7 separate regions of the Homo sapiens genome follow, and all the other regions are linked to region 7. Evidence: promoter capture Hi-C in 16 types of primary human blood cells and fetal thymus (Javierre and others, 2016). All regions are on one chromosome and are shown on one strand. The core of a region is centred on a gene start or on the middle of the fragment in contact, and the rest is flanking DNA. Distances in the headings are between cores, read along the strand shown. Region 1 has its middle 9.6 kb from the start of TGFB2-OT1. Region 2 overlaps TGFB2 (transforming growth factor beta 2). Region 3 overlaps LINC02869 (long intergenic non-protein coding RNA 2869). Region 4 has its middle 28 kb from the start of TGFB2-OT1. Region 5 has its middle 19 kb from the start of LINC02869. Region 6 overlaps EPRS1 (glutamyl-prolyl-tRNA synthetase 1). Region 7 holds the start of LYPLAL1 (lysophospholipase like 1).

Region 1 (4,053 bases), core at 315-2,814, 720 kb after region 7:
TCTTGCCAGGCTGAAGTGCAGTGGCATGATCTCAGCTCACTGCAACCTCCCAGGTTCAAGTGATTCTCCTGCCTCAGCCTCTGAAGTAGCTGGGACTACAGGTGTGTGCCACCCTGCCCAGCTAATTTTTGTATTTTTAGTAGAGATGGGATTTCGCCATGCTGGCCAGGCTGGTCTGCAACTCCTGACCTCAAGTGATCCACCTGCCTCGGCCTCACAAAGTGCTAGGATTACAGGCGTGAGCCACTGTGCCTGGCCCAACAATGTGTACTGTTTCTCGGTAGAGAGAGTGTATAAATTCATTCTGCTTAAGGAGAGAACATGAATTTTTAAAATAGTGCCAAGACAGTATGTTGACTGTGGTATCAGAAATAATTTTTTTTAACAAAGCTTGAAAAGATTGCACTGAACTTATTAAACATATGTGATAATAATTTAAAACTCTTCAAAAGCTGTTTACATACCAAAAGCTGACAATTAAAAATAGTTCTTCTGCGTCTTATCTACATCATTTGTGTGATTTCCCAAAGCTTCTATTATATAACACTTTGTTCTAGAGTCACTGCACACTGAATACTTGAAAACATTGACATTGCATTCTTAAATGATAGCTTGCATTTAGACTTCCTATTAATTCAAATGGTTCAATGAATACATCCTATAATTATACTTGCATAGATACTCAGGGGATAAAAATAGGTCAGTGATCAGAGAATCAGGCCCCTAGAACTATGGAAATTTCCACAACCATCCATGGAATAGGCTTCCTTTTTGAACTCCTGGTTGATTTTTCCAAAGATCATAGAAACCTTGAAATAGCATTTTGTTTGTGTGAGAGACTTAGGTAAAAGTTAATGGTATTTGTAATTAGAAAATGATGTCACAGCACCTTCTCCAGAAGGGATTTTGGTTCACTACATAATTTGTGCACGTTGTACATCGGATGATTAGTAGATTGTCATGGAGGTGGGGGCAGACAGATTCTTTCCATGCACCTCTGTTGCACTTTATAGTGTAAGGGCTGCTTTCAGGCTTTGATGTCACTGGATGTGACTTGAGGTTTTGAACTATATTTGTCAGAAATGGTTCCTGAGTTTTGCAAGTTCCAGCTCAGGTGGTCCATGTTCAAGTGTTGTACCACGAAGATCAACCACATTTAGCCACACTGCACAGCATCCAACACACCACCATGTCCCACCTAGACTTGTGGAGGTTTTAGGCAGAAGACATAGTAAGACAGTACAAGACAAGAGAAGTTGAGGAAGAAACTTCTGTTTGAAGGCTTCATGCACAACTCCAATTGGTTCCCTTTATTGGTAAAGTTTTCCTTTGTTGTTTTCTTTCTGGTCTCTTGAGGGCTTGACCAATAACTCATGGAATGTGTCAGCTCTAATTGCCGGTCTGGATTGGCACAAGTCATGCCTCAAAATTGGAATGTTGTCACATATAACATAGTCCTGCAGGGGGATAAATGTGGCCTGGAAAATGTTTTATCCAAACATTCCTTAAAAACAACTGTGTTCTGCCATGGCAAGAGACAGACAACCTTTAAGAACCAGCTGAGTGAACTCCCAGGATGCCAAAGTTTCAACAGGTGTCAGGACACCACTGTCTTCCCCTTCCCTTAAAAATGCAGATGCCTTCCTTCCTCCAAGGACATCAGACAATGGCCAATTCCCCTCTGGGGTGCTCTGGCACAGTTGTAGCCAGGGCAGCTTTCCAAAAGAAGTGGGTAATTGGTGAGTTGTGAGTATAGAAGAGGGATCTATGAACCTGGGCTGGCTTTGGTGAGTGCCTCCTAATTGATGAGCAACTTACACAAGTGTTGCCTGATGGCCAGGTAATAGCTGTCAAGCAAGCATCATTGGAATGGGTTTGAAGAAAGCATAGAAGCTATCTGTAGGGGGAGATTTGCCACTAAGAAAGATGTCATGAGGTAAGCATATAACATGATTAGGGAGAAGAAGAATGGACACGGACATCTGTGGAGCACCTATTGTGTGCTAGGCACTATGAGTTGACATTTTCACACATTTTATCGCACGACTCCAGAGGTCAAGTACTTACATTCTCATTGCAACGTCTGTTTTCTTCAGAAATAAACTGTGGCAATCTGGTCCCTGGCAACCAATTAAGTAGTAAATACTGGGCTACGCAGACAAATCAGTTCTTTGCTTATTCATTCTCCTTTCCTCTGCACCAGGCAGACAGGTGCTGGGGAGGAAAACAGATGCTTGAACCAAACACTACAACATAGTAGGGAAAACATTCATTTCAAATGTAGTAAGCTCAGATAATGTTCCTCTTACCTCAGAAACATTCCTCATTAAAGGTGCATATGCAGATACCAAAACAGTTGTTGAACATGTAAAAATAATAATTATTATTTTGGCTACCTAAAACTAATCAACTCATTAATTTAATTTTTGGAAAAGAAAATTGCAGAATTGAATTGCTCTTTTTAACTGAAGAGACTGAGTTGGCTGGGGACTACTAGCAAAGCCAAAACCATTAGTTGGGGAAGTAAAATCAAAAGCTGCCACCAGGGAAGGGCTCTCTACAAGAGAAACATTCAAAAAAGTTCCCATAGAAAGCTTCAAGCCCACAGGAAATGTCTAGTTGAGATGATGGATCACAGACTGCCCCAATCGCCAGACTTCCATGGCAACCTTTTGCAGGCACCATCATGTGAAGGAACAATTCTCCTTTTTGTCCTAGGATACGTCTTTTTTGGGAAATGACAAACCGTGATCTTCTAAACATTTCATGTTTGATATTTGACATTTTCCCAAGGCCTCCAACCCTGACCTTGCCATGCAATAGAATGGGGAGAAAGATGCTTCTTTTTTTAGAGATGGGCAACATTGCTTTTAGAGATCTGGGCAGATATACAACCATCTCTTAACAGAGCATGGAGTTGATATGATTGAGATTCCTGGAGAAGTGAGTATGAGTCTGTTACCAGACCACATCATAGATCCTCATCTTCTGATAGTAGTTCAAATATTTGCAGTTATCATGAAAATATCTTTCATTGAAATGGCCTCATTTTTGCGAAGATTTCCTCATACATTTATATCCCACTTGGTTAGTAATTGACAAATGCTAGCATTGTACTGCATCAGATTTACCTGGAATATATTTCTCCTTTACTATAAAATTCCCTTTCTATTCCCCCAAATGGTCTGACCCAGTAGGTTTGGGATAGACCTGAAAATCTGTAATTTTAGAAGCTGTCAAGGTGACTGTTGTGTGCCCTGGTTTGGGATCAGTGAGTACAGGGGGAAGTGCCCATCCATACAGAAATGTGCGAGGTTTGCTCTGAAAGTCTACAACTCTAGACTTTTTCAAAGTGTCTTACAAAGAAGACCGGGTTACAGAGATTGATCTAATTGACTCAAATTTTTCCCCATTACTGGCAGAAATATCTGGCCTTTAGCAGGTTGGTAAAGCCCATTTTTCATTCAGTTTATTATTCCTTGAATTTCCCCAGAAATAACTATTAATAGTCACTCTCTTCTGCAGTTCAGAGTTAAATTGTTATAGGTCAAATTGTGTCCTCTCTAGAAAGGATAGATTGGAGTCCTGACCCCTAGTACCTCAGAATATGACCTTATTTGGAAATAGGGTCTTTATGGAGGAGACTAAATTAAAATGCAGTTATTAGGGTGGGCCCTAATCCAATATGACTGACGTCTTTATAAAAGGGAAATTTGGACACAAGATCAGACACATATCGAGGGAAGACAGTGTGAAGAAATTCAGGGAAAAGATGGCCATCTACAAACCAAGAAAAGAGGCCCTGAAACAGATCTTCCCTCACAGCCCTCAGATGACACCACCCATGTCAACACCTTAATTTTAGACTTCTAGCCTCCAGAACCGACACAATGAAATCCTGTTGTTTAAACCACCCAGTTTGTGGTACTTAGTTCCAGCAGTTCCAGCAAACTAATACCTAAACATTGTGGCCCAGCCTCCATATTTCTTCCTAACAAACTTAACTTTTCTTGTGTAACCATTTTCTCTTTATGTAGGCAGTCTTGCTGGGAG
Region 2 (3,792 bases), core at 627-3,126, 810 kb after region 7:
GACAGATCCAAAGAAGGATCCTTCCAAGCTTGACTTTCTATTTCACACCGGAAAAGGCAGTTTGACATTCTCCTAGGCCAAAGTATGGTCAGCTATGGGTATAGTGCCACATGTCCCTGGCCATCATGTCAAAGACGGCCATGACTAGGCTTCACCGCGAGTACGAACTCCAGTAGCTGCCATTCCACATGCGTGAGCACAAGATGGGAGACCCAAGGGGTTATTTTCACACACAGAAGGCTGCAGAACTGGCTGCTCCTCAGAAAGGAAGGGGGTGAGTTGCCAATAACTAAGGACTATTAACTAAAAACCATCAAACAGAAAAACATTTTCTAAATACAAAACCCACTGTAGCCTGCCTATCAAACTGTTTGCTAAAGGAAAAACTCAGCATAAGGCAGGTCTGTTTGAGATTCTTGCTATAGAAATGCAGTTGCCAAGTGCCATCCTGATGCATCACGAAGACCTCCTCACTGAATTTCCTACTTCCACCTTGGCCATTCAACATACCATTTTTTTTTTTTTTTTTTTTTTTTTTTTTTTTTTTTTCTGAGACGGAATCTTGCTTTGTTGCCCAGGCTGGAGTGAAGAGGCACGATCTCGGCTTACTGCAACCTCCACCTCCGGGGTTGAAGTGATTCTCCTGTCTCAGCCTCCTGAGTAGCTGGGACTACAGATGCATGCCACCATGCCCAGCTAATTTTTGTATTTTTAGTAGAGACAGGGTTTCACCATGTTGGCCAGGATGGTCTCGATCTCTTGACCTTGTGATCCACCCGCCTCGGCCTCCCAAAGTGGTGGGATTACAGACATGAGCCACCGTGCCCGGCCCAACATACCATTCTTAACAGCTACACGGCCCTCTGGCTAAAACCACTCTTCTCTCCGTTTTAGTCAGAGGAAAAGCCACAGACTTGATGATGGCCTACAAGGCCCCACATCACTTATCCCTCATTATCTCTCTAATCTCATCCCTAGGATACTTTTGACAATCCTTGAACATGTCACAACAGAACCAGCTATTCCCTCTGCCAGAATGGAACAGAATAGAATGCCCTTCCCCAGGTAGTCCCAGATTACTCTCTAACATCCTTCAAGTGTCTGCTTACATGCACTCCCTTCTTAACAAATTCATCCATGCCCAGCTTATATAAAATTACACCTCACATCCTCATCCCTGTGACCAATCTCTACTTCCCCTGCAAAACATTTATCCAATTCTAAATTCTTATTTCATCTTTATTATTGATTATCTATCCTATGCCACCAGAATGTAAGCTCCCCATGGGCAAGGATTTTTGCTATTCAATTCACTAGCAGCTAGACTGCTGCCTGATACAAGTAAATACTCAATAAACACAGCTGAATAGGCCGGGCACGGTGGCTCATGCCTGTAATCCCAGCATTTTGGGATGCCAAGGTGGGTGGATCACCTGAGTTTAGGAGTTCGAGACCAGTGGGGCCAACATGGTGAAACCCCGTCTCTACTAAAAATTAGCCAGGTGTGGTGGTGTGTGCCTGTAATCCCAGCTACTCGGGAGATTCAGGCAGGAGAATTGCTTGAACCCGGGTGGTGGAGGTCGCAGTGAGCCGAGATCACGCTGCTGTACTCCAGCCTGGGCAACAAGAGTGAAACTCCGTCTCAAAATAAAATAAAATAAATACAGCTGAATGAACTAATATATCATAAGAATGTCCTCTCTTCAGCCGGGCACGGTGGCTCATGCCTGTGATTCCAGCACTTTGGGAGGCTGAGGCAGGCGGATCACGAGGTCAAGAGATCGAGACCATACTTGCCAAGATGGTGAGACCCTGTCGCTACTAAAAATACAAAAATTAGCTGGGAGTGGCGGCGTGCGGCTGTAGTCCCAGCTACTCAGGAGGCTGAGGCAGGAGAATTGCTTGAACCTGGGAGGCGGAGGTTGCAGTAAGCTGAGATGGACCACTGCCTTCTAGCCTGGTGACAGAGCGAGGAGCGAGACTCCATCTCAAAAAGAAGAAGAAGAAAAAAAATGAACGTCCTCTCTTCACCTTTCTCTTCCAAAGGTCTCTACATGCATTTGACATTTATCTTAAAATTATATCTGTATTTGCAGTTAATGTACAGCTCTTTTAACTGAAGACTTATGCGGAGGTAAAATGAACACTATCAAGTCATTCTTCTCACACTTCAATCAGATTATTTAGTGATGTAGACCACATACGAGAACTGGGTATTTCTGTAAATAGTTCAATAGCCAAAAAATCTACGGTAGTTATAGAATATCCATACTGTACAGTTGTCTTCAAAGTATTAGGTGGTTCAAAAACATCAGAATACCAGGGGGCACAGGGTTGCACAAAGAAAATACCAAGTGATTTATCATTAACTTTGCTTCTTAATAGGTTGGTCAGATTCTTGCCTGCTCTAATGCCTCTGGTTGAACAAAACACTGTTTGGAAAGAGAAACCTGCAGTTACCCAAAGCTGAGTTTGGCTGAGATAGTAAAGTTTACATTCCATTGTTTGCTAGGTCCTTACCCCATGGAATGTCTCAGAACACGATTCAGGCCACCAAGAGGTCAGCAGCGCTTTGGCCAAATGCTACCTCAGGGAATTACATATTACCTTATACATGGTATGTGTCACTTATGCATTAAACACTAGCTTTGAAAGTCCCTTCCCCACTCCACCGTTGCCCGGTTGAAGGCATCTGAGTGCAGAAATACATAACATCCAACACCCACACACGATTAATTTACTTCCTTGCACACTCATTGTTCTCCTCTGTGATGAACAGTGAGCAGAGGGTATGTGTGGTACTCTTAATAACAAGTAATATTATTAAAAACTACCTCAATATTTGCCTGCATTTGGGAAAATGGAAAGCACGTGGCAAAAACTCCACAGGGGCTGTAGGTTCAGGGTCACACTTGAAGGACCAGCTGATCAAACAGAGAGTCCACTGGATCTGAATCCATCCATGTGGTATGACTGAGTAAACAGATGTGCATAATCAGAGCATCCTTTGACTTGAGCAGCTGCAAACTTTAGTGACGTCAGAAGCACCTGCAGTGCCTGTTTAAAATGTGCAGAGTCCTCAGCTCCACCCACCCCAGTGATTCTGACTTGGCAGCTCTGAAATGGGGCCAAGAAATCTGATGGATGTCCCAGGAGACAGAAATGCATATCACACTTTGAGAAACACCACCTCGGGTCAGGCGCAGTGGCTCATGTCTTATAATCGCTGCACTTCAGAAGGCTGAGGCAGGAGGACTGTGTGAGGTCAGAAGTTTGAGCCCAGCCTGGGCAATATAGCAAGACCCCATCTCTAAAAAAAAATTTTTTTTTTAATTAGCCAGTGTGGTGGTGCACACTTGTGGTCCTAGCTACTCAGGAGGCTGGGGTGGGAGGATTGCTTCAGCCCAGGAGTTAGAGGTTACAGTGAGCTATGATCATGCTACCACACTCCAGCCTGGACAACAGAGAGACCTTGTCTCTGTCTCTAAAAAAAGAGAGAGAGAGAGAAATACCACCTTTAAATCTTAACCAAGTTACTTAAAAGCCTCTTATTCAGTAAATACTCTTTTTAAAAAATTATATTTGCCTTCATGACTATTAATCCATTCCTTCATAGAGAGACTTATCTCTACTGCTTACACACTGGATTCTTATGTCTTAATAGGAAAACCTTTAGGCAGGCTAACCACATCTTAACCAATATTATTGGGGATAATAAGCTTGAAAAGAGAAAAATGATTTCGCAGTCACATGGCTGTGAGGAGCATGGACTATTTTCTCCTCCAGGGTATT
Region 3 (4,073 bases), core at 335-2,834, 650 kb after region 7:
TAGCAAGAACAACACGTGTAGGTAAAATCAGGAAATACAAAAGGAACGAAAAAGGAAATTGCATTTTGTGCAGCTCCTACTGAGATAGCTAGTGACATTTGTTTTCCCCAGTGCCAGTGCTGTCAGAAATCCTTATCCACACATCTCCCTTATTACTCTAATTTGTCAAAATGATGGGTAAGTAAGAAAATAAACCTTTTTTCTCAATCTGTAATCAAATTATTAAAGCAACATGTTTGTAGTTATTGAAGCTCCCTCCGGCCTTCCTCACACTTCATGTTCTCAGCAAACCGAAATTCTCTGAATTAAAGTTCCCTGCTCGCAGCTCTCTTGTCTCCCTGTCTAAAACACTTGTTCCTCGAATATTTATTTAACCTCTGCAGACTCAGTTTATTTTTGTCTTTATTTTTAGCAGGGGGTGGTGGCACGCACCTGTAGTCCCAGCTACTTGGGAGGCTGAGGCAGGAGAATCATTTGAACCCAGGAGGCGGAGGTTGCAGTGAGCCAAGATTGCACCATTGCACTCCAGCCTGGCAACAGAATGAGACTCCGTCTTAAAAAATAAATAATAAATAAATAAATACAATAAAAAACTCACACCATTAAACAACTCTCCATTTCTCCCCTCCCCCTAGCCCCTGGCAACCACCATTTTACTTTCTGTCTTTATGAATTTAACTATTCTAGGTACCTTTCTTTTATAAGCATCTAGAATATACCTTATCATATATATATATGGAATCATGTGATATTTGTCCTCTTGTAATTGACTTATTTCACTTAGTATAATGTCCTCAAGGTTTATCCATGCCATGGCATGTATCAGAATCCCCTTTCTTTTGATGGCTGAATATTATTCATTCTATCATCTATCTATCTATCTATCTATCTATCTATCTATCTATCTATCTATTTATCTTTCGATGTATCTATCTATCTGGATATGTGGAGCTGTCCCATTGATGGACTTTTGGGAAGTTGTTTGTTTTTATTGACAGACGTTTGTGGATCTGTTCACTAAACTGTTGCCACCATGCAGACACAATGTCCCTTCCCCCTAAAATGAATTACATTTTTACATCCAAAAAAAAAAAAAGGGAAATAGGTCGGGTGCGGTGGCTCACGCCTGTTATCCCAGCACTTTGGGAGGCTGAGGCAGGCGGATCACAAGGTCAGGAGATCGAGACCATCCTGGCTAACACGATGAAATCCCGTCTCTACTAAAAATACAAAAATTAGCTAGGCGTGGTGGCGGGCGCCTGTAGTCCCAACTACTCGGGAGGCTGAGGCAGGAGAATGGCATGAACCCTGGAGACAGAGCTTGCAGTGAGCCGAGATAATGCCACTGCACTCCAGCCTGGGCGACAGAGCGAGACTCTGTCTCAAAAAAAAAAAAAAAAAAAAAAGAAAATAATTGCTCACATTACATTTCCCATAAAATGACCTTGTATGACCCAATCAATATACAAATATTTTGACTTTTCACAATTCAGATGTCTGAATCATTAGATTCTACTACTCATTTGATGTAAATAAAAAGTTATTCAATTCCTAAAGATTTATTCGCAAGCCAAATTCAATGTCCACGCTTTTGGAAATTCAAACTATAATACTATGGAGCTAGCTTTTGGATATTAAACTTTAAGGAAACCATGCTTCTTAAAAAGCATATTAACTTAGCCCTGGTCCACAGCTGCATTGCTCAGAGTACTTGTATACTAAAATTTGCTTTAAAAAGGAGCCAATTTCTTTCTTTTCCATATGCGATCTGTTACACTAGCAATATTCTAAGTGTAACGAGGGGCTTGGAAATGGGAAGATCACTAATTTGAATCTAGTATTTATTGATAAAATACAGGACACCCAATTCAATTTGAATTTTAGATAACCAATGAAGAATGTTTTAGTATAAGTATGTCCCATGTGACATTTGAGACATACTTATGTTAAAAAATTCTTCATTATTTATCTGAAACTCAAATTTAACTGGACATTCTCTATCTTTATTTGCTAAATAGGACAATCCTATGTGATTCCTACCCTGATCTGTAGGAACTTGAGCCAAGAGACAGATGGAAAAGATAACTGAATGAAAGTGTGCTAACACTAGGGGGCGCTGCAAGAAACAGAGTGAGGCCATACTGGGAATTGAAGAAAGAACAGTAAGGTTCTCCTGGCTCCACTGTGAAGAGCACTTGAGGAACACATAGGAGAGGAGTGACTTCGGCATGTATAACCATCAGAGCCACATAAACCAGCCCCAGCAGGGACAGGGCGCAGCCGCGCAAGCCAAGTCACTAGCAACCAGGAAGCCTCCAAGTCCAGCAGCCAGGGCAACAGAAGCAGCAGCTATGGCTACTGAGCAGCTGATCAGATGCTGGCCTCCACAACCACCAACAAAGAATTTTACTGGCTTCCAAGAAGGACAACTGAGCCTCCCAGGGATCCTGCCAAAGAGGGTTGAGTGGATATCTGGGAACTAAGTTTCTAACAATTCTGGTGGAGTGGTGGGGGTACAATTCAAAGCCTCTTTATAATCCCACTGGTGTGGCCTCCTTCTTGCCCCCACACACAGACATATGCACATTCCCAGAGTGACGCTCTCAAAAGCCAAAGCTAACCGGACTTCTCAACAGCAGAAAATATATCATTTGCACCCCCACAACTTCCCAAAGTAGCCTTCTCCATGTTCTGCGTTGCTCTTCCCAACTTGCCTTCCAACATAGACATCTCCACCAACTCAGATACCTCACTGAACCACCCGCCCCGTCTTCCAGATATAAGGGAAAACACTTCAAAGTTAAAAAGACAATTGTGATTCCAAAAATGATTAAAAAAAAAAAAAGGTCTGTGCCAAAAATAACAGCAACAAAAAGTGTGTTAAGATAAGTCTTACTGGCCAGGTGCAGTGGCTCACTCCTGTAATCCCAGCACTTTGGGAGGCCAAGACGGGTGGATCACCTGAAATCACGAGTTTGAGACTAGTCTGACCAATGTGGAGAAATCCGTCTCTACTAAAAATACAAAAATTAGCCGGGCATGGTGGCCCATGTCTGAAGTCCCAGCTACTCCAGAGGCTGACTCAGGAGAATCACTTGAACTGGGGAGGCAGAGGTTGCAGTGAGCCAAGATCATGCCACTGCACTCCATCCTGGGCAACAGAGCAAGACTCCATCTAAAAAAATAAAAAACAAGAGAAGTAAGTATTACCAAATGCCAAAGTATCAGTTCTAAGCAAAATGTTCTTTTTTTCAGACACTTCCTTTTCTGGATCCTTAAGAGAAATACAGGAATTGTAAATAACAGAGTTGAAAAGCTAATAATCTCTTCGCATCTTCCCTCTGGCTTCAAATTTCACTCACGTTCTCTGTTCAAGAAACTTGGCAGCTTGGAAACCAGGTACTGAAATTACGCGAAACTATAGTGTTATAAGTGTTCACACATACTATAAGTGTGTACACATACTATAGCTATCCGCCAGCTACACATACCTTTCCTTAGAAAATGACAAATCCATTTGAAATCAGGGTGAAACATTTAGATAGGCTTAACACTTATGTGTCCCGAGTCTCTCTTATCAGAGGAAGAAAATATAAAAATAACGAGTCCTAGGCTTACACAGTGACCTGAGCCACAAGCTGGGTGCAAAAACCCAGGTTTTGGGTTTAACCAACAGAGGAGAAATACTGGCTGGCTCTTCTGAAGAAAATTACTCACAATGCATTGCTAAAATTTATTCTTGAGAACAAAACCAGAAAGAAGGGATGAATTGGGACATAGAAAAAAAAACTTAAGCTTGATTCAGCTATCAACCGAGAGACCCTAGAATTGATGGTGACAGAGCAAACAGCAATTGTCCAGGGAGTACTTAAAACCACCTCTGTGTGTGATCATTGCCTCTATGATATGATTTCAGGGTTCTGGGAAATGTTTCTCATGTTGGTTGGCCATATATACCAGGCATTGCCAATAGTAACTAATAAAGACATCTATAAAAAATGTATAAGGAAATAGAAAACAAATACACAAATACACCATATTATTGCAATTTATGTTTTCACAAAAAACTCCTG
Region 4 (3,790 bases), core at 797-3,296, 700 kb after region 7:
TAGAGGATATTAAATAGAAGCTTATACAAGGGAGAATACAAATATCTACAAAATTTTTACTAATGAAATGCAAAATATAATAACAGTAATTTAGCACAATTTTTTGTAATACCAATCTACTAATGAGAAGAAAGAAATTCTTTAAAGGGGGCCTGGAGGAAGTGATATTTTTTATAGTTGGGGTTTAAATGTAATGTTTCCCATTAGCAAACTGGTGCAAATGTTCATCTGCACCATTCTTAGCTCAGGGGCTATACAAAGGCAGATGACAGGCTGGATTTGGCCTATGGGCCATAGTTTGCCAACCCCTGTTTTAGAGTCTTGAGTACTTTCAAAGGAGCAAAGTGTTCTTACATTTACTGTGTCATTTACGTCTCACCATAACTCTATGAGAAGCCTGGCTAGATACCTTATTCCCACCCTATGGATGAAGTTCCTAAAACTTCCACAAATGAAGTGGCTTCCTGAGAGAATACACCAAGTAAATGTTGGAACCAGGACTTGAATTTAGACTTCTTAACTGTTAAGTAGATTCCAATTTAGGGCATATACTAAGTCTCCTCTTCCTCTGATTTACCGAGGTAAATATTAAATTAAACTCTAATGATATTTCAAGTATTGATACCACCCAAAAGATTTTTGGAACCTCATTTTTGGTAATGTTTATCAGAACATTTGTAATGATGGTCCATCTTCATCCTTAGATGTTTAGAAACAGCCCCAAGTCTTCTCATGCCATCTCATAATGTAAACTGCATTTAAGTCACAAACAAGATTTAGCGATAATGAAATGAGATACTTATTCTGGATGGGCCTCAAAAACCAATTCTGAAGACGATGTTTAAGCAGAAACACCCCAAAAATATCTTTAAAGCAAAGACATCTTTATTAGATGAATAAATAGCCTTTCAGTTAATCTTTACAGAATTTTAGAATTTACAGTTTAGGAACTTTGAAAATAAATTTTTCCAATGTCCTTATTTATAGAAGAAGAAGGAAACAAATTTAGAAAAGTTACTTTGAAGAACAACATTCAAATTGTAAAATCTAATGTTTGTTTTAAAACCTCTCTCTCAGTGGTAATAAACAATAATGAATTGCGCTCCAGTACACATCTTGTAAATTACATTGAGTATAGTGACTTTAAGCCAGGAAGGGTAAGATCTGGGAAGTTTGGACTTTTTAGGCCAAGCTACCGGTTCAGATGACTTCTCAAAATCTCTTCCAGTCCAAAACTCCATGATGCTATGTAAAATCAGCTGGAGTCAAAGCCAAGTTTTGTAAATAGTGGTAACTACTTACTGAGTGCTTCCTATATGCCTTGCAGAGTTCTCAGCCCTTAGCTCATAAAATCTTCACAACAATCCTATATGGTAGTTAATGTTATTCCTATCTTATAAATGAGGAAACCTAGGCTTAGAGATGTTCGCCTAAGTTCACATGTATAGTTAGAGGCAGATATTGGATTCCCAATTGATTGGTTAGTTAAGATTCAATCAGAGAAAATTATTAAGAGTGATATATATTTGACATCATACAGTTAGAGGAACGGGCTAGACTATTTACTGCTGTTGCTTTTGCATTTGGTGCTGGGCTTAAAGTCCACAGAGCAGGCTGACAAGAAAGAAAGACAGACATAAAGTAGGGAAGAGCAAAGACAAACTAAATCCATGAGAATAAGCTGGAATCTATGAGGATGAACTGGAACCTGTGTTATCCTCTCACCCCCAAACCTCAACTTCAGTGATATGTGTATAACCTGCAGAAGAACTGGCTTACTTTGCCACAGTGCTCCATATGAAACTGCTCAGGTAGCATTCTCAACTTCCAGTTTACTGAAATCATTACTGTGCTCACTCCTTTGGAAACTAAAACCTCTAGACTAACGGAGCAGGAACAGGAAACAAAAATTCCACTAGTTTATGTCTAGGAGAATAACTATTATTCCCATAGAGAGGATTTGCCATTCCAGGATTCGAGAGGTGCATTTGCCTAAATAGGTAAATCTTATCTCTGGCAGAAAGAGCATTATATATTAGTCAGTAATTAGAGCAAATAAAACATCCTGGAGGATATTACTTTTGTCTTCCAAGTTATTTACATCCAGTTGGCACGGTATCCGAGTCTTCAAAAGGCCATCCCACTGTTCTACCATGCCGACTGCTTTATAGTGATTGGGAACATAGAAAGACCACTAAATTCCATGAGTATGAGCCCCACGTTGCACTTAATTTGCTGTAAACTGAATTGCTTTGTCAGCAGCAATGTGTAGTGATAGCAGCATTCTGTGAGTTCATAGATGGTAGTATTGGCACTACAGGAAGTTAAGGCAAATCTAAATCTAGAGTAAATGTCTGTTCTAGTAACAACAAAGTGCTGGTGCTGTCTGTAACCTGATGGAATTGATCCAATATAATCAGCCTCCAACCAGGTGCCTTCTTAAACCCACCAGGTAGTGGTGCCATACAAGTGTTGTTCTTGCTGTTGGTAGGACAGACCCTTAGCAGTGGCTGAAGCCAAGTCAGCCTTAATGAGTAGAAATCTATGTTGCTGAGCCCATGCATAACTTCTACCCTTTCTTTTATGCCTACTTTCTTCATAGAGCCCCTTGGGCAAGGATGGGGGTAGCTGGAGAGAGAAACTGACTGATGTCCATAAGACAGGTTATCTCATACACCTGATCATTGAGATCCTCCTCTGCTTAGACTGCTCTTTGGTGCAAATTCAAAGAGGTCCATCGACAAATCTTTTCCCCAGACCTCTTTTTCACTAATTTTCTAATAGGGCTTCTTCAAAGTCCCTAACCTTCCAGATATACTCATAGATACAGTCAATGAGTCACTGTACATCCATACTTTTTGCCCTTTCTCCTTTCAAGCAAAATGAGCAACTAGGTGCACTTGTTGAAGTTCTGCCTGCTGGTAGGTTTTTTCCTTACCACAGTCTTTAGGGCCACCCCAGAGTGGGGCTATAGGGATATAGCTATCTACTTTTGGGCATTGACCACACATCATCAAGAGCGATCTATAAACCAGGCTGAAATCGTTTCTTCTTTAGTCAACATCTGTGCCTTTGCATGTGCAATTTACCTTTGCCTTCAATACCTGCTTCAAGCTGATCTCATTTATACCATTTTCCTTTAATAATGGAGCACTTCTATACACATATGACTTTTCTTTTTAAGAGATGGAATCTCATTCTGTTGCCCAGCCCAGGCTGGAGTGCAGTGGTACAATCATAGCTCACTGTAACCTCAAACTCCTGAACTCAAGTGATCCTCCTGCCCCAGCCTCCCAAGTAGTGAATAGCTAGAACTACAGGCATGTGCCACCAAGCCTGGCTAATTTTTTATTTTTAGTTTTTTGTAGAGTCGAGGTCTTGCTGTGTTGCCCAGGCTGATCTCAGACTCTTTGCCTCAAGCAATCCTCCAGCCTCAACCTCCCAAAAAGCTGGGGTTACAGGTGTGAGCCACTGTACCCAGCCGCACACACATGACTTTATGAGAAAAATATGTGTGTCTCCATAACCCATAATCTTAACTATTGTGCTACACTTCTGTCATAACAAACAGGAACTAGCATATTTAACATAGAAGAAAAGGTCAGGTGACCATCATTCTTTTCAACATCACTGTAGACATTTATCGTGTTAGCACTTCTAATTACGAGTATAAAGCGGAATTAAAGGAAGAGCTATGACTTAAGCAGCTTCTGAGAAAATAACAATAGAGGAAGTCTGATTTACACTCTTGGAGATAATGACCTGTGACTAGTAACTAACTACACAGGAG
Region 5 (4,146 bases), core at 1,252-3,751, 680 kb after region 7:
ATATTAGATGGATTGGAATGTGGAGAGAAGAAAGATATAAGCCAATTAGAAAATGTCCTTCTTGCATAAAAAGCTCTTAATTGGCCATAGTGACTTTGAGGGGTACCTGGTATAAAGCCTCAGTTTTGCAGACTTAATACCTTCTCACTAATGACCATATTGGGAAACCATGACAGAAAATTCTAGACAAAATAGTTGCTTTCTCTACACCTGGGAAGCCAAGCCAGGCTCACTAAGAGAGAAACCCTCGCTGTCCACTGGACTAAGCACAGATATAAAGTGGAAAGTTGTGCATTTGCATCTCACCTCTTCCCACCCCTACTTTGTTCTGTGCTGCATCCCCAACACCCAGCGCAGCACTGGCACATGGAAGAGAGTCAGCAAAATTTTATGGAATACATTTTCCCACTATGCAAGAGTGTAATAATCCCCTTATCTTTGTCAGCTACTCACTGCTCATTCATTCAAAAACTATGAGTCAATCACTACACTAGATCTTGGAGATAAAATGTCATTTAAGCAAACGTTGTTCTTCATCATGGAGAGCTCACTCTAGTAGAAGAGATAGACATTCACCAGATAACCACATAAAAATTCAGTCTATAACTATGGATATGATGGTACCATGAAGGAAAAGGCAGAGCAGTCTGAGGAGAGGCCCCAACATGGTCTTGGTCTACAGTGAGAAAACCTGTTCCAGAAGCTTCCTTGAAGCAGTGACTGTTGAACTCATATCTGAAAGATGACTGGCAGTTGACAATGTGAAGATGAGGAGAGGGCAATTCAGACATAGGGACTAGCATGAGGAGGACGTGAGCATGGAAGGTTGGAGCGTGATAGCCAGAGCACAGAACGTGAGAACAAGATGCAGGAGGCAGAAGACATTGGCAGGTGCTGCACCCCAGAAACCACATTAAGAACTACTGTCAATTAGCTGGGCATAGTGGTTCATGCCTGTTAAACCAAGCACTTTTAGAGGATCCCTTGAGGCCAGTAGTTCATGAGGGCCGTGAGCTATGATGATGCCACTGTACTCCACCCTGGGCGACAGAGTGAGACTATGTCTCAAAAACAAACAAACAAAAAAAGAATTTCCATTGATAGATCGATGGTAGCCAATTCCAAGCAGATGCTTTGTGTAGGGCACTCTTCTTACGTGCTGAGCATACCAAGGAGGAAGGTTCAATCCCTTACCTCAATCAAATAGAACTCTAGTTAGTGAAAATAGGATGTTTTTTAGAAGATTAAAAATTAAAAAGTTAACAAGTGCCTTCAGCTAGGGGACAAGTGAATGGGTCACAGGCATTGACAGAATGGAGAGCTCACTGGAAGCCATCCCAGAAGAGGAAGAACTTGACCTGGACACTGAAGAGCAGACAGGACAAATCACACCAGAGATTCCAAGTGTGAAGACCAAGACCAGAGGAGGAAATTTACGAGGATGCTTGGGGAGTCATCCTAGGATGCCTTTGACACTGTCCACCTAACAGGGTAAAATCCAGTGAAAAGGGGACCACCAGACAAATCGTCATAGAGACTCCCACACAGTGCCTGTCTGTCTGATTTCAGCTGAGTTTTTTCCCAAATTCCATCAAAACAGACAGTAGATGACACACCGATTATTTGCTTTTTGTATGTATCCCGCAAAAATTAGTTAAGGAAAAACACAGTCTACGTGTAAATTTTTCCATCTGCAACAGAAGGAAAATGTATCTGTTCATACCAACTAACCCAAGATCCAACAGAATGAACCAGTGAAGGAGGGAAATGAACTTAGTCGTTTGTAATATGTCTGTCAGGATAAATTAAATGCACATAGCTACACTTTGATATACCTGCCCTCAATTCTTTCAAACCAGTTTCAATTACTTTCTCACCATACAGTAATATTCATGAGTATATTTCTGGAAGATTTTAAGTATTTCACAAGTATTAACTCATTTTATCTTCACAACCACCCAGTGTGGTTAGTATTGGTGTTATCTCCATTTAATGGTTGAGAAAACTGAGACAGAATGAGGAGAGGTGACTTAACTAAGGCTGCAGCAGGGCAAAGGAGGAAATGGCATTTGAACCTAGGACATCTGGCTCCAGAGCTATACTCTTAACCTTTACATTTTACTGCCTACCTAATGTGTATAATAAACCAGGGGCCAACAAACTTTTTCTGGAAAGTCCCAGGTAGTAAGTATTTTTGGCTTTGTGGGCCATACATTATCTCTGCCTTTACTACTCTATTGTGTCACTGCAATGGGAAAGCAGTCACAGACAATATGTAAAAGAAATGTGTAGGCCAGGCACGGTGGCTCATACCTGTAATCCCAGCACTTTGAGAGGCTGAGGTGGGTGGATAACTTGAGGTCAGGAGTTAGAGACCAGCCTGGCCAACATGGTGAAACCCTGTCTCTACTAAAAATACAAAAATTTAGCCAGGCATGGTGGCATGCTCCTGTAGTCCCAGCTATTCCGGAGGCTGAGGCAGGACAATCGCTCGAACCTGGGAGGCAGAGGTTGCAATGAGCTGAGATCGCACCACTGCACGCCAGCCTGGGCGACAGAGTGAAACGCTGTCTCAAAAAAAAAAGAAAAGAAAAGAAAAGAAAAGAAAGAAGGAAGGAAGGAAGGAAGGAAGGAAGGAAGGAAGGAAGGAAGGAAGGAAGGAAGGAAAGAAAAAGCAAGCAAGCAAGCAAGCAAGCAAGCAAGCAAGCAAGCAAGCAAGCAAGCATGGCTGGATTTGACCCATGGCAGACCTGACCAAGCCCTTCCATAATTTGCCATTGCAAATTAAAATAAGGTCACTTTTCATAAATTTACATAGCGTGAAAAAGATCTTGCTTGTTAGCCTTTTAGTCCCCATTTGTGAACATTCATTTATTTACTCAGCAAGTATTTAGTGAGTCCATACTCTGGGACAGGCACTTTTTTCAGGTATTAAAATAACATCAGTAAACAAGATAGTTTCTATCCTCTGGAGCTGTATTCTGGCAGAGGAGACAGACAATAGGCAAACAATAGAGATAAGCTAGATAGATCATAGAACAGTAGGTAGTAATAAGTGCTATGAAGAAAAACAAATCAGAGCAAGAGACTAAAGACAGGCAATGGTTGCTACTGCAGGGTGCGTGGTCAAGGAAGGCCTCCCTGTTGGGGAGGTTTCTGTAGAAGTAGTCACTGAAGTCTGGGAGTTGGATGAGATCTCCAAGAGTGTACATGTCATTCAAAACTGAAAAGTGAAGGATTCAGCAAAGAAGGCTAAGAAGAATGCTTCAATAAGGAGAGTGAAACCAACTGCAACTGCATTGAATACTGCAAACATTCACACGGAGGAGGTCTGAGAGGTGCCCATTGATTTGGCAATGAGCATGACCCTGGTAACTTTAATGAGAGCATTTTCAGAAGAGGGAGGAAAGCCCAATTAAAGGAGATTCAGGAGCAAGTAAAAGAAAGAGAAAGGAAGACAGTGAGTGTGAAAAAATTATTTCCAGAAATTCTGCTATAAGGAAAAGAAGTAGAACAGAGTAGACAGAGGATAGTATAGTATAAAGGAAATATTTTGCTTTGGGCTTTTTTTTGTGTTTTTTTAACTAGGAAGACATAATATACAATATGCTTTTATATTAATAGAAATAGTCTAGTAGAGAAGATGAAATGGATGAAGTTGGGACAAAGAATAAATATTCTTGTGTTTGATGTTGTTATTCACCTGTATAATGGGCATTAAATGTAATTTAGATGTTTTATGTGTTGATCTTCACCTGTAAGAGATATATAGTGTGATTTTCATGTAACACAAATCAGTGAGCTCAGCACAGAAGCAGGGCTGGTATTAATATGCACCAGTACAAACATAGCAGTTGTCTATGGTCAGTATCTGTTCTGACTGTTGAATGCATTTCTAGTGAAATATTTTATTTATCATCCCTGCTCAGTGTGCTTCACTATATAATCTTAATTTTTACACAGTCATTGTATAATATAATAAAATTTCTTTGAATTTGAAAAGAATCTTTGCTTTTCAATAGAATTCACCAAGAACAATGAAATAAAAACAACAACAACATTGGATTAGAACATCAGACATGGGTTACCAGTTTTCTGTTTATTGGTTGATTTTAGCTAGAACACATCTCCCTATTACTCTATCTA
Region 6 (4,311 bases), core at 1,296-3,795, 830 kb before region 7:
AGGAGGTGGAAGCTGCAGTGAGCTTAGATCACATCACTACATTCCAGCCTGGGCGACAGAGTGAGACTGTCTCAAAAAGGAAAGAAAAAAAGAAAGAAAAGCATTAACTTAGTGCCATTGAATTTATCTAGGAATTCAGTGTTTATTGCTGTTCAGATAATTTTGTTCAAATAAACTATTTTGTCCCTTTATTTTCTTTTTAGCCCATATAGTTGCAAGGAAGCCCCGTGTGTTTTGATATACATTCCTGATGGGCACACAAAGGAAATGCCAACATCAGGGTCAAAGGAAAAGACCAAAGTAGAAGCCACAAAAAATGAGGTAATGACTTTTACGGATATGTGTATAAAAATAAATGGTCTTTCTATCCCAGGGTTTAGAATATATTTCTTTACAGATGATTATCTTTCTTACTGTGGAGACTGAAGAAGACAGTTAAGTCTTGCTCTTTGCATTTTGTTGTTATCCTTTCATGTAAGATTTTAAAATCTCACTCTCACCCAAGGCTGGAGTGCTGTGGCGCGATCTGGGCTCACTGCAACCTCCGCCTCCCGGGTTCAAGCAATTCTCATGCCTCAGCCTCCTGAGCAGTTGGGATTACAAGCGTGCACCATGACGCCCGGCTAATTTTTGTATTTTTAGTAGAGACAGGCTTTTGCCATGTTGGCCTGGCTGGTCTTGAACTCCTGACCTCAGGTGAAACTCCCACCTCGGCCTCCCAGAGTGCTGGGATTATAGGCATGAGTCACCGTGCCTGGCCAGACCCCTTATACTCTTAAGAATGATTTGCTTATGTGGGTTATATTTATCAGCATTTATCATACTAAAAATTGAGAAGTTTTAAAAGGATTTAATTCATGTAAAAATAATAAATCCAGTTACATGTTAACATACGAAAAGTTTTTATTAAAAAAAATTTTCCAAAATAAAAATTTTAGTTAAAAGAGCGGTATGGTTTTAAATTTTTACAGATCTCTTTAATATCTGACTTAATAGCTTCTAAAAACCTGTACAAACAGTCATGAGAGAATGAGAGCGAAAAAGACAAAATACATCGTAATATAGTGAAAATAGCTGTGACTTTGCAGATCCCCTTTAAAAGGGTTTTATATACCCCTTGGGGTCTGTGGACCACACCTTGAAAATTGCTACTATATATTATTCAATAACTCATGGAGTAAGCATGAGATGGGAAATTTGGTTGCTTTTCCCTCATTGGTTCCAGTTCCCATCTGTGCCTATCATTTTTTACATATCCTAGAAAGATAACTGGTGTTATGCTATAAGTTAGTATGTGTTCTTGAAAAACTTCATGTTCTGCAAAATCACATACCGAAAATAACAGCCGATTTTTCAAGAAAAACAGAGTTGAGGCAAACCACTAAAAACCTATGTATCCCATGTGGTTTCAGTCAGATGGTGGCTGGGTAGCAGTCATCAAAGACTCAACTGGGCTGTATTCTATTTTTATTTTATTTTATTTGAGACAGAGTATTGCTCTGTTGCCCAGGCTGGAGTGCAGTGGTATGATCTTGGCTCAGTGTAACCTCCACCTCCTGGCTTCAAGCGATTTTCTTGCCTCAGCCTCCCAAGTAGCTGGGACTAAAGTCACGCACCACCATGCCCAGCTAATTTTTTTATATTTTTAGTAGAGATGGGGTTTCGCCATGTTGGCCAGACTGGTCTTGAACTCCTTACCTCAGGTGATCTGCCCACCTCGGCCTCCCAAAGTACTGGGATTATAGGCATGATCCACTGCACCTGGCCTGGGCTGGATTCTAAAATTGTTTCCTCACCTGGATGCCAAGTTGATATTGGTGTTGGCTGGGAGCTCAGGTGGAATAGTTGACTGCAATAGCTGCAAGTGGCCTCTCTAGCATGACAGTGGCAGGGTAATAAGACTTCTTAACTATCATTTAAGGCCTCCAAAAGTGAGTGTCCAGTAGATGAGGTGGGAGTAGCATTGCATTTTAGGATTTAGACTTGTAAGTCTCACATAACATCATTTCTGCTGTACTCTGTTGGTCAAATCAGTAACAAGCTTTCTCAGATTCAGGAAAGGGCACAGAGATCCCCCTTCTTGGTGGGAGGAAAGTCAAAAAATTTGTGGACATGCTTTGAAACCTGCACACTTTTGAATAGAAATTCAATATTCAGGTACAGTTGACTGCCACTTATACCCAACTTTGCAGTCAGAGATCCTTTGCAGCTTTAAACCTGAAGGATAATAATGCTTTTCCCTGTGATGTGTAGATCTTTGAGGATATTTTTCTCCAATAGAGGCTGATACTATCAAAATTAAATTCTCATCCAGGGCTTAATGTTATGGTAAAAAATGTTTTTTAAGCATCATCCTCATTAAAGGAAGGCACTTATATGAAAGGTTTTTGGGTTTTTCTTCAGATTGTCAATGTATTTCTAAAGTTTTCTCTTTAATTATGAAAAGCTTGTTCCTGCATGCTTCTTTATTTGACATAAAACTGGAATACACAGGGAAAAAATCACACACAAGGCAGTGTGATTTTTTTTTTTTTTTTTTTGGTGTTACACTCATATGTTCCCCTGTTTACTAACCATGAATGAGATGATTTATGTTGCAAATTAAATGTAGCAGAACAGGCCAGGCGCAGTGGCTTAAGCTTGTAATCCCAGCACTTTGGGAGGCCGAGGTGGACAGATCACGAGGCCAGGAGATTGAGACCATCCTGGCCAACATGGTGAAACCCTGTCTGTACTAAAAATGTAAAAATTAGCTGGGTGTGGTGGTGCAGGCCTGTAATCCCAGCTACTTGGGAGGTTGAGGAACAGTAATCACTTGAACCCGGGAGGCGGAGGTTTCAGTGAGCTGAGATCACACCACTGGACTCCAGCCTGGCGGCAGAGCAAGACACTGTCTCAAAAAAAAAAAAAATGTAGCTGAACAAATATATATTTTTGATATAGGGTGGCTACATGAATTGTATTATTTATTTAATGTATATGCATTTATATATGCATATTAGTGTTTGAGTGTACATATAGAATCTCACTAAAAATAAATATGAGTGATTTAAGGAATTATGGGGAAGGAATTTTGAGCGATGGGTTTTTTTTACTGACATGCCCACTTTGAGAGCCTAACGCCTGTGTAAAATGCAACTCTGATACAGCTTGAGATGCCTGTTAAGTGTCTAGGTAAAGATGTCTTGAAGACATTGAAAATGCTGGGTCTGGGATCAGGACAGAATTCTGGAATAGAGATGAAAATTTTTGGAATTTGTACATAAGACTGTGAATATGGATAAGATTATTCTGAAAAATTAAGTGGCAGATCATTTAAAAGAAAAAAGCTGAAAGAAAGGTATAATGTGAGCTGGGTTTTAATGTTAGAAGGGTTTCAGTAGGGAAGAATGCAGTCTAGGCAGCAGAAAGCATGAATAAAAATAGTATCTTTATTCACTCTTCAGGGTTGATTTTAGTGAACATAGCTCTAGATTTTATACACAAATAGATACCTGTAAATTTATAATTTTACACAAATGAAACTGTTCCACAACAATGAGTTACAATTATATCACAGAGTTTGATGGAGCTCTTGCCTTATCAACAATCTAGATGTATTTCATCTCTAAAAAAATTAATAGTGATACCTAATGCTTATTGATATTCACTTTTTCTCAGCCTTTGTGACTAAGGGCTTTACACAGATTACTTTTTATTTTCCCATCAACTTGATGGGTTAAGTATGGTTATCCCCCTTTTATAGTAAGGAAACAGCTTAAAATAACTCAAAGTTGCACAGTGAGTATGTGGTAGAGCAGTGATTTATTCTCAAACTTGATGGATATGTTATAATTTCTTTAGTCCCCTAATGACAAAGATTTAGGGTATTTTCAGGTTTTTACTATAGTAAAAATGCTTCAGTGAGTATGTAGGTACCTCTATCTTTGTTTACGCCTGTCATTTTTCATTAGGATAAATACTTAGGAGATTATTCATTTAAGCTTTTTAAGGGATTGAAGTTTAAAGTTTCTGTTTTTAATTGGAAACATTATAAAACAATCAGTTTGAAATAATTTTGTGGGAAAACATTTAATATGAATTAATTATTTTACTTTTGGTTTTCTCTCTTGGTAGACCTCTGCTCCTTTTAAGGAAAGACCAACACCTTCTCTGAATAATAATTGTACTACATCTGAGGATTCCTTGGTCCTTTACAATAGAGTGGCTGTTCAAGGAGATGTGGTTCGTGAATTAAAAGCCAAGAAAGCACCAAAGGAAGATGTAGATGCAGCTGTAAAACAGCTTTTGTCTTTGAAAGCTGAATATAAG
Region 7 (4,224 bases), core at 1,588-4,087:
GGTATCTCTAGGAGACTTCTGTGATTAGCCTAGGGAGAAAAATGTAGAGTGAAAAGACCTTGGACCAAATTTAGAGAAACCCCATCATTAATGGCCAGGTAGAGGAGGATGAGTCTGCAAAAGAAACCAGAAGGAGCAAATCAAGACAGAAAAAGAACCAGGAGAGTTTTTTGAGAAGAAAGCTGAATGCAGATGACAGTTCACGTAAGAGGACGACTGAAAATGTCCATTACATTGAGCGACATAGAGCCTGAGCTTACTGGTGACTTTACCAAGAAGCTACTCAGTCAACTTGCTGAGCCTTACCACACAAGAAGAAAGCCATAAACAAGACACATGGTTTGGGCTTTGTGGACCTACTAGCTTAGTGTGGAATACAGACATTACATTACATAATTACAAGTATGATGACTACCACTGAAAGAAGAACCAGTGTCCTATGGGAGCAAATAAGAGTGAATTAATCTGATCTGAGAGACTGAACAAAACTCATTAACCTATCATTTATTTTTATCATCTTAAAAGAAGGTCCGTCTTTAGTACTTTATTAATAGAAAAGGCTCAAATTAAGTTGGCTACATATAATTTACACTCCCATATGTTCTTCTATGGCTGCTATCTCCTAGAAGAAAATCTCAAGCTTTTAAGGTTTTTTATTTGAAAACACAAAATCTGTCTTTAACAACATTTTTTCAGCCTCGAAGAGTAAGAATGCAGCTGCAAAACAACATCTATCCATTCCCAATGTCCACTTTTTAAAAAGCTAGTACTTTATTCCATAGTAAAAGTGTTAAAACTGGTTAACAGTATGGCAAAACTGAGTGTGATAAAACAGAATTGGTTTGCCCATATTCTAGTTAAGCAGAAACCAAACATCTCCTATAACATAACCACATACATTAAAGTTGAATGTAAAATCACTAGCTGCTAAAGACCTACTGGATGATAAAGACCTACTCCCAACGATAAAGATGATAAAGACCTACTCCCAATAAGGTTTTATTTACTTCAGTGGAGATTTAAATATATAGGAATCACATTATACTCGCATACTTGGCAGAATTCTTTGAATAAATTCTTGGTTCAAAGTACAAAGGAAAAAATACATACATACATGACTCTGAATTTTAGAGACATACCCTTACAGGTTATAAAAATGTAATCTGAAATTCAAAAAAAGGATAATTATTTTAAGCAAAGAGGTCCAGGGGAAAAAAGAACATAGTCTAGGAGTTCTTCCTAAAGATAATGAGAATTGATTATGAGAAAGGGTACAGTGTTGGGGAATTTCTGGGTACTTATAAATGAACACTCTTGGAGCCCTAAATAGTACTACCAGTCTCCTAGTTATTAAGTACCGCTGTCATCTTACACACGTCACCTTCTAAATATATGCCGTCTTTCCCTTTAAACACTATTGGACCTCTTCTTCCCTATCTCCAAAACAATATATCCTAGTTCAAACTTTTTCACCTTACCCCACCAAAGCCCTGAGTTTGAGGTCGGAGAGCTTTGGGTTCTAATCCCAAATCCGCCACTACTCACAGTAACAGCTAAGAGACCTTGGCCAAGCTGCTGAACCTGTCTGGCCTCATTTTCAAAATAAAGAGAATACCTCCCACAATTGCCCTTTTCCAGGTCTCTGCCCAGTACCTTTCCAATTCCCTTCCAATCACCGTCCCATTTAAGCCTACCCGTCTCGGCTCAAAGACCACTTTCTTCGAAAAGTCTGACAAGCTTTTCATCTTCCAAATGCCTTAATAATGCCTAACCACATTTTTTTCTCTTACAATTCACTTGGCAGGAAACCATGCACCGTCTTGTGATCTTCCATGCACTGCTGACTCAAACTAATTGGATTGTTTTTGTTTTTAACTTTAGGTAGGCCCCCTGAGGACACCGGCTGCATCTCATTTCTTTAAAAAACATTTCCTGAGAGCTTACCCTGGGCCAAGCACTGGGGGTGCAAAGGTTGACACAAGGGCCCTTACTCTCATAATCCAGTGGGAAGTTCACAATCCAGTGGGGAAGACAGACAAAAGTGATTACAGATGAGTGTTAAGTAACGATACAGCATTAAGCACACGTTACTAAGGGCAGGTAGTGGAAGATGCCTGTCCCTGGGGGTCCTGCCCCTGTAGTCTATCTTGGAAGTTTAATGACACAGGCGGGAAAGGGAAAGGAAGGAAAGAGAAGCAGCAAAAAGGAAAGTGAGAGAAAGCACTCCAGCCATGGCACAGTGGCTTACAGAAAAGAGATAATCTGTAAACAGTATCTAAGTTAACTGTGAATCTCAATTGTCTACATTAGTATGGGAGCCTGGAAAAAGCAATGGGCAATTACGACTGAAAAATCACTAGTAGCTGATAATGAAAAACACTAAATAATTTCCCTCTAGCAGAAGACTTACCTTACTAACTTGCTCTGTTTAAACTTGGGGCGAGGAATGGGGAGGTGTGTTGTGGGGATGGAGGGCTGGCTGAGCGGCGGGACACAAGGCCCCAAAGCGAGGGTGGTGGACCAGTGACCGCCCGATAGAAAGAGGAAGACTAACGGGGGAGGCTGGGGGCAGGTGGCGCTGCCCGTGCATCTACAGCCGGGGCTGGCGACGGGGGAGCCACCCACTGGGCCCTATTTGGGCCCGGCGACACCTCCACTTGGGCAATACTGGGGTAACCGAGGGGAGGATGTTTCCCGAGCTGTAGAAAACCAGGACGTAAAATTGAAATCCACCTGAGCCATGCAGGAAGATCAGAGAGGCGCTATGCCTCCCTGCCGGCGACACGATACAGCGCTGCAGAACCGACCCCGACGCAGCCGCCATCGCTGATGCCACTGCCAGTCATGCGGTTCCGCCCCTGCGTTGCCGCGCGGGGCCGCGCACGCAAATACGCAGGCACGCGCGGGAGCACGCCCGGGAGCGCGCATGCGCAGCGCTGCTGGCCCGCTCTCTGAGGAGCTTTCAATACTTTGGGGTCAAGTTTGAGGCAGTTGTAACTGTACTGAGTTTAGTTTTGCTAATAATGGTATTCTACGTGTGTCAGCCTCGTGTGGACTTCTGTAATGACTAATGGATATGTTTATATCCTGAGCATTTGCTGTAGGAATTTTAAATGCAATCCCAAAACTCAAGATTACCTTATTTGGAGAAATATTCGTGTTACTATGTTTAAAATTTAATAGAACCATATTTTACCTTTCACTTTGGGACTCGCACAGGATGTTTGCAGCTCTTGATATACAGGGTAAGCGAAGCATATAATAATAAGTTCTCTTCGTGTCTCTTATTTTTAATAAATAGTTTACAAAGCAAATCTAATTTAATGAGATTCTGCTTTATATACCCATTAGAATGGCTCTTATCAAAAAAACAGAAAATAAGTATTAGTAAAGATGTGTAGAAATTAGAAACCTTGTGCATAGCTGATCAGAATGTAAAATGATGTTGCGGCAATAGAAATAATTTGGTGGCTCCTCAACAAGTTAAACATTGACTTAGCATAGGTACTAGCAGTTCCACTTCTAGGTATATACCCAAAAGAGATGAAAGCAGGGACTCAAACAAATACTTGTACTTCAGTGTTCTGTAGCAGCATTATTCACAAGTACCAAAAAGTGGAAACAACTCAAATGTTCATCTACAGATGGAGAGATAAACCAAATGTGCTATGTACATATTGGAATGGAATATTATTCAGCCTGTAAAAAGAATGTGATTCGGATACATGCTACAACATGGATGAACCTTGAAAACATTATGCCGAGTGAAGCCAGACACAAAAGGACAAATAATTGTATGATTCCACTTACATGAGATATCTAGAATTGGCAAATGCATAGGGACAGAAAGTGAAATTAGAGGTTACCAGGGACTAAGGGAAGAGGGAGTTGGGAGGTTGTTGTTTAATGAGTACAAGAGTTTCTGCTTAGATAGTGAAACATTTTTAAAAATGGACAGTGATGATGGTTGTACAACAGTGTTAATAACTGCCAGTGAACTATACACCTAGTAAATTTTATGTGTATTTTACCATAATTTTAAAAATACTAAGAAATGGAATTATTTCCTGTATAAAGTCCAAAACATAGGTATCTTTTAATACTGAAGGCAGTGGCCCCAGCAGGTTGCTCTTGCCTCATGTAAAATTCAACAAAATAACCCAGTAAAAGCTTAAGTACCATTAAACACTGGCCTTCCATTCATTGTAGTCTGCATTACATTTT

Evidence for each region. Contacts are between HindIII fragments. The CHiCAGO score rates a contact against its expected background, and 5 or more counts as called.
Region 1: a fragment that was not itself captured here is called in contact with the fragment with the promoter of LYPLAL1 in region 7 in 1 of 17 cell types (M0 macrophages); the score reaches 8.9 in M0 macrophages.
Region 2: a contact is called between a fragment that was not itself captured here and the fragment with the promoter of LYPLAL1 in region 7, in 2 of 17 cell types (endothelial precursors and megakaryocytes). The highest score is 5.7, in endothelial precursors.
Region 3: a contact is called between a fragment that was not itself captured here and the fragment with the promoter of LYPLAL1 in region 7, in 1 of 17 cell types (M0 macrophages). The highest score is 7.5, in M0 macrophages.
Region 4: a fragment that was not itself captured here is called in contact with the fragment with the promoter of LYPLAL1 in region 7 in 3 of 17 cell types (M0 macrophages, monocytes and M1 macrophages); the score reaches 10.2 in M0 macrophages.
Region 5: a contact is called between a fragment that was not itself captured here and the fragment with the promoter of LYPLAL1 in region 7, in 2 of 17 cell types (M0 macrophages and endothelial precursors). The highest score is 7.0, in M0 macrophages.
Region 6: a contact is called between a fragment that was not itself captured here and the fragment with the promoter of LYPLAL1 in region 7, in 1 of 17 cell types (total CD8 T cells). The highest score is 5.4, in total CD8 T cells.

The regions. Positions count from the first base shown.
Region 1 is chr1:218,450,206-218,454,258 of GRCh38, reverse strand. No RefSeq gene overlaps it. Among named protein-coding and RNA genes, the nearest start is that of TGFB2-OT1, 9.6 kb to the right of the region's middle. The HindIII fragment of the contact is 2,064 bases long and covers 533-2,596 here.
Region 2 is chr1:218,366,014-218,369,805 of GRCh38, reverse strand. All of the region lies in intron 1 of TGFB2 (transforming growth factor beta 2), which reads right to left. Among named protein-coding and RNA genes, the nearest start is that of TGFB2-AS1, 22 kb to the right of the region's middle. The HindIII fragment of the contact is 3,691 bases long and covers 31-3,721 here.
Region 3 is chr1:218,519,810-218,523,882 of GRCh38, reverse strand. LINC02869 (long intergenic non-protein coding RNA 2869) reads right to left here. Exons shown (of 3, transcript NR_146760.1): 2 at 433-530. Among named protein-coding and RNA genes, the nearest start is that of LINC02869, 12 kb to the right of the region's middle. The HindIII fragment of the contact is 4,426 bases long and covers 1-3,797 here.
Region 4 is chr1:218,468,791-218,472,580 of GRCh38, reverse strand. No RefSeq gene overlaps it. Among named protein-coding and RNA genes, the nearest start is that of TGFB2-OT1, 28 kb to the right of the region's middle. The HindIII fragment of the contact is 4,047 bases long and covers 23-3,790 here.
Region 5 is chr1:218,489,379-218,493,524 of GRCh38, reverse strand. No RefSeq gene overlaps it. Among named protein-coding and RNA genes, the nearest start is that of LINC02869, 19 kb to the left of the region's middle. The HindIII fragment of the contact is 3,592 bases long and covers 706-4,146 here.
Region 6 is chr1:219,997,148-220,001,458 of GRCh38, reverse strand. It overlaps EPRS1 (glutamyl-prolyl-tRNA synthetase 1), which reads left to right. Exons shown (of 32, transcript NM_004446.3): 17 at 204-321; 18 at 4,117-4,311. Among named protein-coding and RNA genes, the nearest start is that of EPRS1, 47 kb to the left of the region's middle. The HindIII fragment of the contact is 193 bases long and covers 2,449-2,641 here.
Region 7 is chr1:219,172,491-219,176,714 of GRCh38, reverse strand. It overlaps LYPLAL1 (lysophospholipase like 1), which reads right to left and starts at 2,837. Exons shown (of 5, transcript NM_138794.5): 1 at 2,734-2,837. The coding sequence starts at 2,824. It overlaps LYPLAL1-DT (LYPLAL1 divergent transcript), which reads left to right and starts at 2,927. Exons shown (of 5, transcript NR_038845.1): 1 at 2,927-3,245. RefSeq lists enhancers at 2,547-2,876, 2,957-3,006. The HindIII fragment of the contact is 2,433 bases long and covers 1,740-4,172 here.